Regions from separate parts of the Homo sapiens genome. Here regions 1 and 2 are each linked to region 3. Evidence: promoter capture Hi-C in human tissues and cell types (Jung and others, 2019). All regions are on one chromosome and are shown on one strand. The core of a region is centred on a gene start or on the middle of the fragment in contact, and the rest is flanking DNA. Distances in the headings are between cores, read along the strand shown. Region 1 holds the start of ZNF443 (zinc finger protein 443). Region 2 holds the start of ZNF799 (zinc finger protein 799). Region 3 holds the start of ZNF439 (zinc finger protein 439).

Region 1 (4,032 bases), core at 1,402-3,901, 590 kb before region 3:
CTACATCAAAAAAGAAGAAGACCTTCAGGCTGGGTGCAGTGGCTCCCATCTGTAATCCCAGCACTTTAGGAGGCCAAAGGGAGTGGATCACCTGAGGTTAGGAGTTCGAGACCAGCCTGGCCAACATGGTGAAACCCTGTATCTACTAAAAATACAAAAAATGACATGGTGGTCGGTGCCTGTAATCCCAGCTACTTGGGAGGCTGAGGCAGGAGAACTGCTTGAACCCAGAAGGCAGAGGTGGCAGTGAGCTGAGATTGCGCCATTGCACTCCAGCCTAGGCTGCAAGAGTGAAGTGAAACTCATCTCAAAAAAAAAAAAAGAAGAAGAAGAAAACCTTCAAATAAACAACCTAAGAATGCATCTTAAAGAATTAGAAAAGCAAGAGCAAACCAAACCCAAAATCAGTAGAAGAAAAGAAATAATAAAAATCAGTAGAAATAAATGAATTTGAAATGAAGAAACAATAGAAAAGAACAATGAAACAAAAAGTTGGTTTTTTGAAAAGACAAACAAAATTGACAAACCTTGAGGTAGACTAAGAAAAAACCAGGCCCAAATAAATACAATTAGAGGTGAAAAAGGAGACATTACAGTTGATACTGCAGAAATTCAAAGGATCATTAATGCAACTAAGAACAACTATATGCCAATAAACTGGAAAACCTAGAAGAAACTGATAAATTCCTAGGCAGATAGAACATAGCAACATTGAACCATGAAGAAATAAAAAACCTGAACAGACCAATAACAAATAATGAGATCAAAGCCATAATAAAAAGTCTCCTAGCAAAGAAAACCCCAGAACCCAGTGGCTCCACTGCTGAATTCTACCAACATTTAAAAAAGAACTAATACCAATCTTACTCAAACTATTCCAAAAAACAGAGGAGAAGGCAATACTTCCAAATTTATTTTACAAAGCCAATATTACTTTGACACCAAAACCAGACAAAGACATGTCAGAAAAAGAAAACTATAGGCCAGTGTCACTGATGAATATTGATGCAAAAATCCTCAACTCAATACTAGCAAACTGAATTTAACAATACACCAAAAAGATCATTCATCATGACCAAGTGGGCTTTATCCCTGGGATGCAAGGATGGTTCAATATATGCAAATCAATCAATGTGATGTATCATTTCAACAGAATAAAGGGCAAACACCATATAATCATTTCAATGTGCACTGAAAAAGCTTTTGATAATATTTAACATCCCTTCATGATAAAAACCCTAAAAAAAAGTGGGTAAAGAAGGAGCATACCTTAACATAATAAAAGCTATATATGGCAGACCCACAGCTAGCATGATAATGAATGGGGAAAAACTGAAAGCCCTTCCTGTAAGATCTGGAACACAATAAGAATGCCCACTTTTACCACTGTTGTTCAACACAGTACTTGAAGTCCCAGCTAGAGCAATAAGACAAAAAAAAAAAAAAGAAAAAAAAAGAAATAAAGGGCATCCATATTGGGAAGGAAGAAGTCAAATTATCCTTGTTTGCATATAATATGATCTTATATCTGGAAATACCTAAAGACTCCACCAAAAAAGTATTAGAACTGAGAAATAAATTCAGTAAAGTTGCAGTATACAATATCAACACACAAAAATCAATAACATTTTTATATGCCAACAGTGAACAATCTGAAGCTACTTGAGAGGCTGAGGTGGGAGGATTGCTTGAGCTTAGGAGGTAGAGGTTGCAGTGAGCCATGATGGCCCCACTGCACTCCAGCCTAGGTAACAGAGCAAGACCCCATCTCAAACAACCAAAAATGTGTAGAAGGATGGTTACCAGAGGCTGCGAAAAGTAGTAGCGAGGAGTAGTTATGGGGGAAGTGGGGATGGTTAATAGGTATAAAAAATAGTTACAAAGAATGAATAAGACCTAGTATTTGCTAGCACAACAGAGTGACTATAGTAAAAAATAATTTAATTGTACATTGAAAAATCTTGAAAAATTTCATTGAAAAAGAGCATAATTGGAGCCAGGCGCAGTTGCTCACGCCTCTAATCCCAGAACTTTGGGAGGCCAAGGTAGGCGGATCACGAGGTCACGAGTTTGAGACCAGCCTGGCCAACATGGTGAAACCCAGCCTCTACTGAAAAATACAAAAATTAGCCGGGTGGTGGCGCGTGCCTGTAATCCTAGCTACTCGGGAGGCTGAGGCAGGAGAATTGCTTGAACCCACCCAGGAGGCGAAGGTTGCAGTGAGCCTCGCACCATTGCACTCTAGCCTGGGCGACAGAGCAAGACTCCCTCTCGAGGAAAAAAAAAAAAAAAGATATAATTAGTTTGTCAGTCCGTGTCCAGGAGGAAGAAGCAGGAGGTCCTATTGAGTACGGGCAGGAAATTCCGCTTAAGTGCAAATATAACCCGGGAGGATTCAGATCAAAGAGCAGGGAGGAAGCCCCCCCTGCCAAGGGCTGTGTCAGGAACTTGCTCATCCGGCTCCACTCAGCTGTGCAAGATCGCTTCTTCTGTCAATCAGCCCTCAGGGGGCGGGACCTGACGCCCTATCCAATCAGGGGCGTGGGGCGGGTTCGTGGGAACTGTCAATCAGGCACTGCCCAGAGAAGTGTGTGTGGTTGAAAAAGCCCGCGGCGTCTGCTCCACCCACCTGCGCTCGGCTCTGGGTTCTGTAGCTGAGAGACGACCTGGAAGTTCTGAGGCAGCCTTTGTCTGGCTGGAACACGCATTGGCAGCGGGAGCTGTCGGTAGGACCTGGGACACCGCGGAAGTCGGGAAATGGTGCGTGTGCTGGGCCGGCGTCCCGAGGCGGGGGAGGGGTTAGGTGGAACCGGCCGTAATCGGCTGTGGCTGGACCCGGGCCTCCCCAAGGGCGACTTCGGGATCTACGGACCCGGGTCCCCCTGGCGTAGGTCGGCCCTCGGCCGCAGGGTGGGGCTGGGCATGCAGCCGGGACCCCGGGCGTCCTGTCCCGTTCCTGCGCGGCGACTGCGGCCCCGGCGCCCTCTCTGGGCAGCTCCGAGCCCGCAGCCCCGGGTCTCCCCAGATTGTGCGGCTGTAACCAACACAGGTTCGCGGCCCGACTCACTGCACCGAGACGCCGAGGGCTGCAGCAGAAACGGTTTAACAGGAGGAGAGGGGAGGACACCCCAGATCCGCCTCCCTGAGGGATTTGGGGTCTGGACGGGGGCGGCTGGGTGTAGCGTCCTTGGTTGGTGGGGAAGTGAGGGGTGAATCCTGGGACAGGAGGTGAAGAAACCGCATTCTGCTGAGAGGGCTCCCTCGTGGGGTCTTCAACCTGGTTGGCGCCAGCCTTTCTGCTGGGATTCAGGATCTGAGAACTCCGGCGACTCTTGAGCAGCACTCGGAGATCTTATCCCCAGGCACAATGGGGAAGCCGGCGGTCAGCGTCTGCTGTGACCTGACTCTCAGGGAGGCGGCCCCTTGAGGCAGCGGGGCTGAGGGCACCTGTTTAATATCTAACTGCAATCTCGCCTCCAGCCTGGCTCGCAGTTCCTGTGAACCCGGTGAGGAGGCTGCACGGTGACGACGAGTCACCAGGTGGAATCCAGACTCGTGTGTGGGGTTTGTGTGTGGGAGGAGCTGTGGTTTCCGTGGTCCTCAGTCCTTTCTTCCTTTCCAAGGGCGACCGTTTCCCCTCTGAGTCTTCCAAAGACGTGGGCAGCAGGGTCTCAAATCCACCACTGTGTTCTCTCATCCTGACTCTTCCTAGGGCTGGCAGCAAATCTCTTGGTTTCCAGAGACTTCCCCAGGCTAACCTTCTGTCCTTAATTCACAGCAACAGTATGAACTGTTTGGCCCCAGGCGATATTTCACTAGTTTGTCATCTTGTTTTCAGCTAGCAATGTATGGCTTTTTCTTGAAAGAATTGTTTTGGGTTCCTGAACACGGTGGGTCATTCCTGTAATTCCAGCACCTTGGGAGGCTAAGGCAGAGGTATTGCTTGATCCCAGTAGTTCCAGACCAGCCTGGGCAACATGGCAAGACTTTGTCTCTAGTGTAAATGATAATAATAAAATTAGCTGGGCTTGG
Region 2 (3,999 bases), core at 1,074-3,573, 550 kb before region 3:
GCTGCAAGAGTGAAGTAAAACTCACATCAAAAAAAAAAAGAAGAAGAAGAAGAAGAAGAAAACCTTCAAATAAACAACCTAAGAATGCATTTTAAAGAATTAGAAAAGCAAGAGCAAACCAAACCCAAAATTAGTAGAAAAGAAATAATAAAAATCAGAGTAGAAATAAATGAATTTGAAATGAAGAAACAATAGAAAAGAACAATGAAACAAAAAGTTGGTTTTTTGAAAAGACAAACAAAACTGACAAACCTTGAGGTAGACTAAGAAAAAAACAGAAAGGCCCAAATAAATAAAATTAGAGATGAAAAAGGAGACATTACAGTTGATACTGCAGAAATTCAAAGGATCATTAATGCAACTAAGAACAACTATATGCCAATAAATTGGAAAACCTAGAAGAAATTGATAAATTCCTAGGCAGATAGAACATAGCAACATTGAACCATGAAGAAATAAAAAACCTGAACAGACCAATAACAAATAATGAGATCAAAGCCATAATAAAAAGTCTGCTAGCAAAGAAAACCCCAGAACCCAGTGGCTTCACTGCTGAATTCTACTAACATTTAAAAAAGAACTAATACCAATCCTACTCAAACTATTCCAAAACAGAGGAGAAGGCAATACTTCCAAACTTATTTTACAAAGCCAATATTACTTTGACACCAAAACCAGACAAAGACATGTCAGAAAAAGAAAACTATAGGCCAGTGTCACTGATGAATATTGATGCAAAAATCCTCAACTCAATACTAGCAAACTGAATTTAACAATACACCAAAAAGATCATTCATCATGACCAAGTGGGCTTTATCCCTGGGATGCAAGGATGGTTCAATATATGCAAATCAATCAATGTGATGTATCATTTCAACAGAATAAAGGGCAAACACCATATAATCATTTCAATGTGCACTGAAAAAGCTTTTGATAATATTTAACATCCCTTCATGATAAAAACCCTAAAAAAAAACTGGGTATAGAAGCAGCTACCTTAACATAATAAAAGCCATATATGGCAGACCCACAGCTAGCATGATAATGAATGAGGAAAAACTGAAAGCCTTTCCTGTAAGATCTGGAACACAATAAGAATGCCCACTTTTACCACTGTTGTTCAGCACAGTACTCGAAGTCCCAGCTAGAGCAATAAGTCCAAAAAAAAAAAAAAAAAGAAATAAAGGGCATCTATATTGGGAAGGAAAGGAAGAAGTCAAATTATCCTGGTTTGCATATAATATGATCTTATATCTGGAAATACCTAAAGACTCCACCAAAAAAGTATTAGAACTGAGAAATAAATTCAGTAAAGTTGCAGGATACAATATTAACATACAAAAATCAGTAACATTTTTATATGCCAACAGTGAACAATCTGAAGCTACTTGAGAGGCTGAGGTGGGAGGATTGCTTGAGCTTGGGAGGTAGAGGTTGCAGTGAGCCATGATGGCCCCACTGCACTCCAGCCTAGGCAACAGAGCAAGACCCCATCTCAAACAACCAAAAACGTGTAGAAGGATGGTTACCACAGGCTGGGAAAAGTAGTAGCGAGGAGTAGTTATGGGGGAAGTGGGGATGGTTAATAGGTATAAAAAATAGTTACAAAGAATGAATAAGACCTAGTATTTGCTAGCACAACAGAGTGACTATAGTAAAAAATAATTTAATTGTACATTGAAATATTTTGAAAAATTTCATTGAAAAAGAGTATAATTGGAGCCAGGCGCGATGGCTCACGTCTCTAATCCCAGAACTTTGGGAGGCCAAGGTGGGCGGATCACGAGGTCAGGAGTTCGAGACCAGCCTGGCCAACATGGTGAAACCCGGCCTCTACTAAAACATACAAAAATTAGCCGGGTGTGGTGGCGCGCACCTGTAATCCCAGCTACTCGGGAGGCTGAGGCAGAATTGTTTGAACCCACCTAGGAGGCGGAGGTCGCAGTGAGCCTCGCACCATTGCACTCTAGCCTGAGCCACGGAGCAAGACTCCCTCTCTCTCTCTCTCTCTCTCTCTCTCTCTCGGAAAAAAAAAAAAAAAAAAAAAAAAAAGTATAATTGTTTTGTCAGTCAGTGTACAGGAGGAAGAAGCAGGAGGTCCTATTGAGTACAGGCAGGAAATTCCGCTTAAGTGCAAATATCCCTCGGGAGGATTCAGATCAAAGAGCAGGGAGGAAGCCCGCCCTGCCAAGGGCTGTGTCAGGAACTTGCTCATCTGGCTCCACTCAGCTGTGCAAGATCGCTTCTTCTGTCAATCAGTCCACGAGGGGCGGCACCTGACGCCGTATCCAGTAAGGGCCGTGGGGCGGGTTCGTGGGAACTGTCAATCAGGCGCGCTTCCCAGAGGAGTGTGTGGTTGAAAAAGCCCGCGGCGTCTTCTCCACCCACCTGCGCTGGGCGCTCGGTGCTCGGCTCTGTAGCTAAGAGACGACCTGGAAGTTCCGTGGCAGCCTGTGTCCCGCGGGAACCCGCATTGGCAGCGGGAGCCGTCCGGAGGACCTGGGACACCGCGGAAGTCGGGAAATGGTGCGTGTGCTGGGCCGGCGTCCCGAGGCGGGGGAGGGGCTGGGTGGAACCTGCAGTAATCGGCTGTGGCTGGACCCGGGCCTCCCCAAGGGCTACTCCGGGATCTACGGACCCGGGTTCCCCTGGCGTAGGTCGGCCCTCGGCCGCAGGGTGGGGCTGGGCATGCAGCCGGGACCCCGGGCGTCCTGTCCCGTTCCTGCGCGGCGACTGCGGCCCCGGCGCCCTCTCTGGGCAGCTCCGCGCCCGCAGCCTCGCGTCTCCCGAGATTGTGCGGCTGTAAGCAACACAGGTTCGCGGCCCGACTCACTGCACCGAGACGCTGAGGGCTGCAGCAGAAACAGTTTAATAGCCAGAGAGGGGAGGACACCCCAGATCCGCCTCCCTGAGGGATTTGGGGTCTGGACGGGGGCGGCTGGGTGTAGGGTCGTTGGTTGGTGGGGAAGTGAGGGGTGAATCCTGGGACAGGAGGTGAAGAAACCGCATTCTGCTGAATGGGCTCCCTCGTTGGGACTTCAACCTGATTGGCGCCAGCCTTTGCTGGGATTCAGGATCTGAGAACTCCGGCGACTCTTGAGCAGTTCTCAGAGATCTTATCCCCAGGCACAATGGGGAAGCCGGCGGTCAGCGTCTGCTGTGACCTGACTCTCAGGGAGGCGGCCCCTTGAGGCAGCGGGGCTGAGGGCACCTGGTTAATATCTAACTGCAATCTCGCCTCCAGCCTGGCTCGCAGTTCCTGTGAACCCGGTGAGGAGGCTGCACGGTGACGACGAGTCACCAGGTGGAATCCAGACTCGTGTGTGGGGTTTGTGTGTGGGAGGAGCTGTGGTCTCCGTGGTCCTCAGTCCCTTCTTTCTTTCCAAGGGCGACCGTTTCCCCTCTGAGTCTTCCAAAGATGTGGTTAGCAGGGTCTCAAATCCACCACTGTGTTCTCTCATCCTGACTCCTCCTAGGGCTGGCAGCAAATCTCTTGGTTTCCAGAGACTTCCCCAGGCTAACCTTCTGTCCTTAATTCACAGCAACGGTATGAACTGTTTGGCCCCCAGGCGATATTTCACTAGTTTGTCATCTTGTTTTCAGCTAGCAATGTATGGCTTTTTCTTGAAAGAATTATTTTGGGTTCCTGAACACGGTGGGTCATTCCTGTAATTCCAGCACCTTGGGAGGCTAAGGCAGAGGTATTGCTTAATCTTAGTAGTTCCAGACCAGCCTGGGCAACATGGCAAGACCTTGTCTCTAGTATAAATGATAATAATAAAATTAGCTGGGCTTGGTAGCTGGCACCTGTAGTCGCAGCTACTCCTGAGGCTGAGGTGGGATGATGGCTGGAGCCCAGGAGTTTGAAGTTGCAGTGAGCTATGATCGTGCCTCTGCATCCCAGCCTAGGCAACAGAGGCCGACCCTGTCTCAAAAAAAAAAAAAAAAAAGGGTGTCCACAGCTGCCAAGTCTCTTGGAGGGTCTAGTGAATATCATCC
Region 3 (4,212 bases), core at 1,638-4,137:
TTATATTTATTTGCCGTTTCCCTATATAAGTGTTAGGGAAGCAGGTGCCTAGGGGAGCCAGAGAAAGACCAACCAGCTCCATCTTGAGACTAACAAGAAACACTCCTTGCCAGTCACAACCCATAGTCATAAAATGTTTCCCATGAAGAAAACAGCCTGAAGATGCCTGCAAGTATCCTTACACTCCCACAACGACAGAATGTCCCGATGTCCCAATACCCCAATACCCATAATATGTGCTTTCAAGGTAATTATAGTTATGCTTTAATGCACTTGTGCACTAAAATGTAAAGGATAGTTTTCTTTAAATCAACAGAGTAATAAATTTTGTGATGCTGTCAGCCCACATGCAGGTAGGCACAGCTTAGTTTATTCTTTACATAGACAAGATCCCTACATAAGAAAAACTTAAGACAGTACATTCCTCCTCTTGCTGTATGAGGATGCCCTACTCTGTAACAGAGAAGCTTTCTTTCTTCTTCTTCTTCTTTTTTATTTTTTTAAATAGAGACAGGGTCTCGCTGTGTTGGCCAGGTTGGTCTTCAACTCTTTTTTGTTTGTTTGTTTTGTTTTTGTTTTTTGAGATGGGGTCTCACTCTGTTACCCAGGCTGGAGTGCAGTGGCGCATCCTCGGCTGGGCTGCAACCTCTGCCTCCCAGGTTCAAGTGATTGTCCCACCTCAGCCTCCTGAGTAACTGAGACTACAGGCACAGGCCACCACATCCGGCTAATTTTTCTTATTTTTGGAAGAGACGGGGTTTCGCTAAGTTGCCCAGGCTGGTCTCGAACTCCTGAGCTCAAGTGATCCTCTCGCCTGGGCCTCCCAAAGTGCTTGGATTACAGGCCTAAGCCATCATGCTGGCCCAGAGTAGCTTTCAATAAACTCTCTTCGCACTGCACTTTGTGACTCGTCTTGAATTCCTTCCTGTGTGAGATCCAAGAACTCTCTTGGGGTCTGATCAGGACCTCTTTTTTCAGTAATATAAGCAAGAACATAACTTCCAATTTTGGAGTACTGAGTCCATTTTTCTGGAGTCTGTGTTTTGGTCATTGCTATCTTTCTGCTTGAATAAACTCTTCCAACTGAAATCTGAACCTTTTGATTATTTCCGGTTGACAAGTCCAAATAAGGCGACTGCATCTCTGCAACCAATCAAGCATTTATCTGGTTTGTCTCCTCATGTACCTTATAAAAGCCTAGCCTTAAACATGTAAAACAAAAATAAAAACATATCTTCTGGCATGGCGATGTGGCTCACATCTGTAATCCCAGCACTTTGGGAGGCCGAGGGGGGTGGATCACTTGAGGTCAGGAGTTTGAGAACAGCCTGGCCAACATGGTGAAACCCCATCTCTACTAAAAATACAACAATTAGCTGGGGGTGGTGGTGCGTGCCTGTAATCCCAGCTACTCAGGAGGCTGAGGCAGGAGAATCCCTTGAACCCAGAAGGCAGAGGTTGCAGTGAGCCGAGATCGAGCCATTGCACACCAGCCTGGGCGACAGAAGGAGACTCCGTCTCAAACAAAAACAAAAACAAACAAAGTACCTTCCCAGCTAAGTGAAGTGACTGGCTCTTGGCCAAGGGAACCCCCAAAACACCCTGAAAATTGAGTGCCTCTGTATGACAGGATGGGAGGTGAGACAGGTCTCCTTATACCCTCTCCCTTTAGGAGTTTACATGCAGCAACTGACGCACATTCATGTAAAAACAGACATTCTCTGACTGGAAAAACAGACTCCTTGTGGCAACAAGATACCAAATTACAAACAAGACCTAAGGCCACGCAAGGCAAAGGTAAAGTTACGTCTTAGAATTCATAAAATCTAGAGAAACAGGACTGTTTTTTGGCTGGGATGGAATGAAGTGGCAGATAACAGACCCCCTTCCTTCAGCATTCCTTCCTACCTCCTCCAAACTTTAGACAAAGCTTCACACTCTCAACCAGCTGCCACCTACAGAATCCCTCAACCACCTGTGCCTCCTAACCCCCCTTCCACAGGTCCCACCCTTTCTGCCAATGGAATTTACACCTTCCAGCCTTGATCCATCATTTTCCCTGCAATTCCTGTCTCTCTGAAATGAATAAAACCAAACTGTCCTGAGCCGCCTCCGGACCACTTACTCCAGGCTGCTTGGGGTTGTGTTTCCCTCGGCCAAGGTCTCTCCTACTCGGCTCTGAATACACTTCTGTATTTTACATAGTCTGTTTTTTTTCCGTTGACAAACCACAAGCCAGGACCGGGTGTTTCTCATTCGTGAATGGCTGTTTCCTCAAATGAACTTTTTGTTAACGTACCTCAGTATAATTTTTAACAGGAGAAAGTGGAGGCTGTGGGCCCCACAGACCGCTGCTCCTCCTACGGACGAAATCCACACCCGAGTCGAAATCCGCGCATGACCCTCCCGTGGCCCCCGCACAAGCTGGGGCGTCGGGCTGCGGGCGCGGAGCTGCACAAAAGGGCTTCGGGGCCAAGGCCGCAGTCGACGGGCAGGGACGGGACAGGACGCCCGGAGTCCCGGCTGCCGGCCCACCCACATCCAGCGGCCGCGGGGACCGAGGGCCGAGCAGCTCTAGGAGGACTCGGTCCCAGACCCCGGAGTCGCCCACAGGGAGGCCCGGGTCCCGCCAGTTCCAGGCAGCCCCTCCCCCATCGCACCACTCCCGGCCAGCACACGCACCATTTCCCGGCTTTCAGATGTACCGGGGTCCTCTCTACAGCTCCTGTGAGTAAAGCAGGGCATAGCGCAGGTGACAGAGCGACAGAAATCTGGGTAGAGGCACTAGGTCCCTCTCGGGGCTGGAAAGGCCAGATCCCAACCGCCGCCCTCGCAGCGACAAAGGTGACGGCAGGAATGCAACATCCTCCGTGCCTGGATGCACAGTGGGCAGGGCCCCGAGCCAGTGCCTCTGATTGGATGGAATGTTCGGCCCCGCCCCCCACGTCTAAGTGACAGCGGAAGCCCTGGGTATCAGGCCCTGCGGAGCCAGACTGACAGATTCTAGCAACAGCTTCTCTAAGCTTACACGAGCTGCTTCCTGCACTCGGGTTATTGGATAGTTGCATTTCAGCCAAACTTGCTATTGTTAGAAGAGAACACTAGCGTCTTCCTCACTCAAAGGACTGTCCCCGCTCCTTCGTTCTGCACGGGGTCACAGGAGTGTGCAGGGAATTTCAGACTCAGTGTCCACAGGAGCCATCTCCTGCCTCAGAGCAGCAGGGGAACCGAGACCAGGCCAGGCAAGACTGCACCAGGAGGAGAGGCATATTTCCTCGAGCGGGCCGGAATTGGGGATGAGGCATGGCCAAGACTTGCTCACACACCCCCATCCCCTCCTCACAGTATGAAAATGCTCCGTCCTTCCAGATCTTCATTTTCACCTGCAGGAAACTCTCACCTGGGGTTAAGCTTCGGACCTAAATAAACTGTCAACCTCATAAACCTTTTATCCAGGTGACGCCACCAAACAATTGTGTCTCTAGCCTGATTTTCACACATTTTCTTTATATATACAAATAACTCTGACTCCAGCGACCCCATGTATGTCAAACCCCAAACCCTGCCCAGAAGACAGCCCCAGGCTCCAGAGGTACAACACCAGAAAGGACAGAACCCCACAAATGCGTCTGCACGAAGGTCTTCTGCTTTCCAGGGCCCTACAGCTTCTCGGAATCCACACTCCTTCTGGAGCTGCTCTGAGCAGCTGGAGGCCACCTGTAGGGGAGGGCGGGCTGCCCAGGAAGCCCCCAGGAAAAGCTCCTTTCCCTTCCTTTGCAGGCTCCAGACTGGCCTCAGCGTGGAGTCACTGGCCTCGGGCTCTGCTGCCCCTGCAGGTTATTCAGCTACTTCTCACCCCATTGATCAGTTCCATGACACAAACACCCTCAATCCCATTGTGTGAATAAGACACCAGCAGAGTCCCTGCTCTCCTCCTATGTTTATGTATAAAGTGGGGAAGGAAAATTCTAAGATAACTTAAGTACATTTAAAAGACTTCCAGATCGCGGTGGAGGTGGCAGCGGAGGGACCCACGGTCACTGACACTGCAGCACCTCCAGGCCTGTCTGGTCAGAGAAAGGGTGGAAAGCTGGAGATGGATGTGGATACGTGGAGGGAGCAGCCCTGGGAACTGGGCTCTGCAGCAGCGCGGCTCTAGGGCCTGGAGCCCGGGAGAGCACAGATGGGGGCTCCTGGGACAGGATGCTCAAA

Evidence for each region. Contacts are between HindIII fragments. The study calls those that stand out against the background at their distance.
Region 1: a contact is called between the fragment with the promoter of ZNF443 here and the fragment with the promoter of ZNF439 in region 3, in 2 of the 25 tissues and cell types used here (mesenchymal stem cells and mesendoderm cells).
Region 2: a contact is called between the fragment with the promoter of ZNF799 here and the fragment with the promoter of ZNF439 in region 3, in 3 of the 25 tissues and cell types used here (bladder, mesenchymal stem cells and thymus).

Annotation. Positions count from the first base shown.
Region 1 is chr19:12,439,640-12,443,671 of GRCh38, reverse strand. ZNF443 (zinc finger protein 443) reads left to right here and starts at 2,651. Exons shown (of 4, transcript NM_005815.5): 1 at 2,651-2,760. The coding sequence starts at 2,758. RefSeq lists an enhancer at 2,203-2,472 and a silencer at 2,883-2,972. The HindIII fragment of the contact is 16,773 bases long and covers 1-4,032 here.
Region 2 is chr19:12,399,595-12,403,593 of GRCh38, reverse strand. It overlaps ZNF799 (zinc finger protein 799), which reads left to right and starts at 2,323. Exons shown (of 4, transcript NM_001080821.3): 1 at 2,323-2,526. The coding sequence starts at 2,524. RefSeq lists enhancers at 2,169-2,218, 2,939-3,028 and a silencer at 2,549-2,708. The HindIII fragment of the contact is 18,323 bases long and covers 1-3,999 here.
Region 3 is chr19:11,847,401-11,851,612 of GRCh38, reverse strand. ZNF439 (zinc finger protein 439) reads right to left here and starts at 2,887. Exons shown (of 4, transcript NM_001348719.2): 1 at 2,683-2,887. The coding sequence starts at 2,745. The HindIII fragment of the contact is 2,018 bases long and covers 1,200-3,217 here.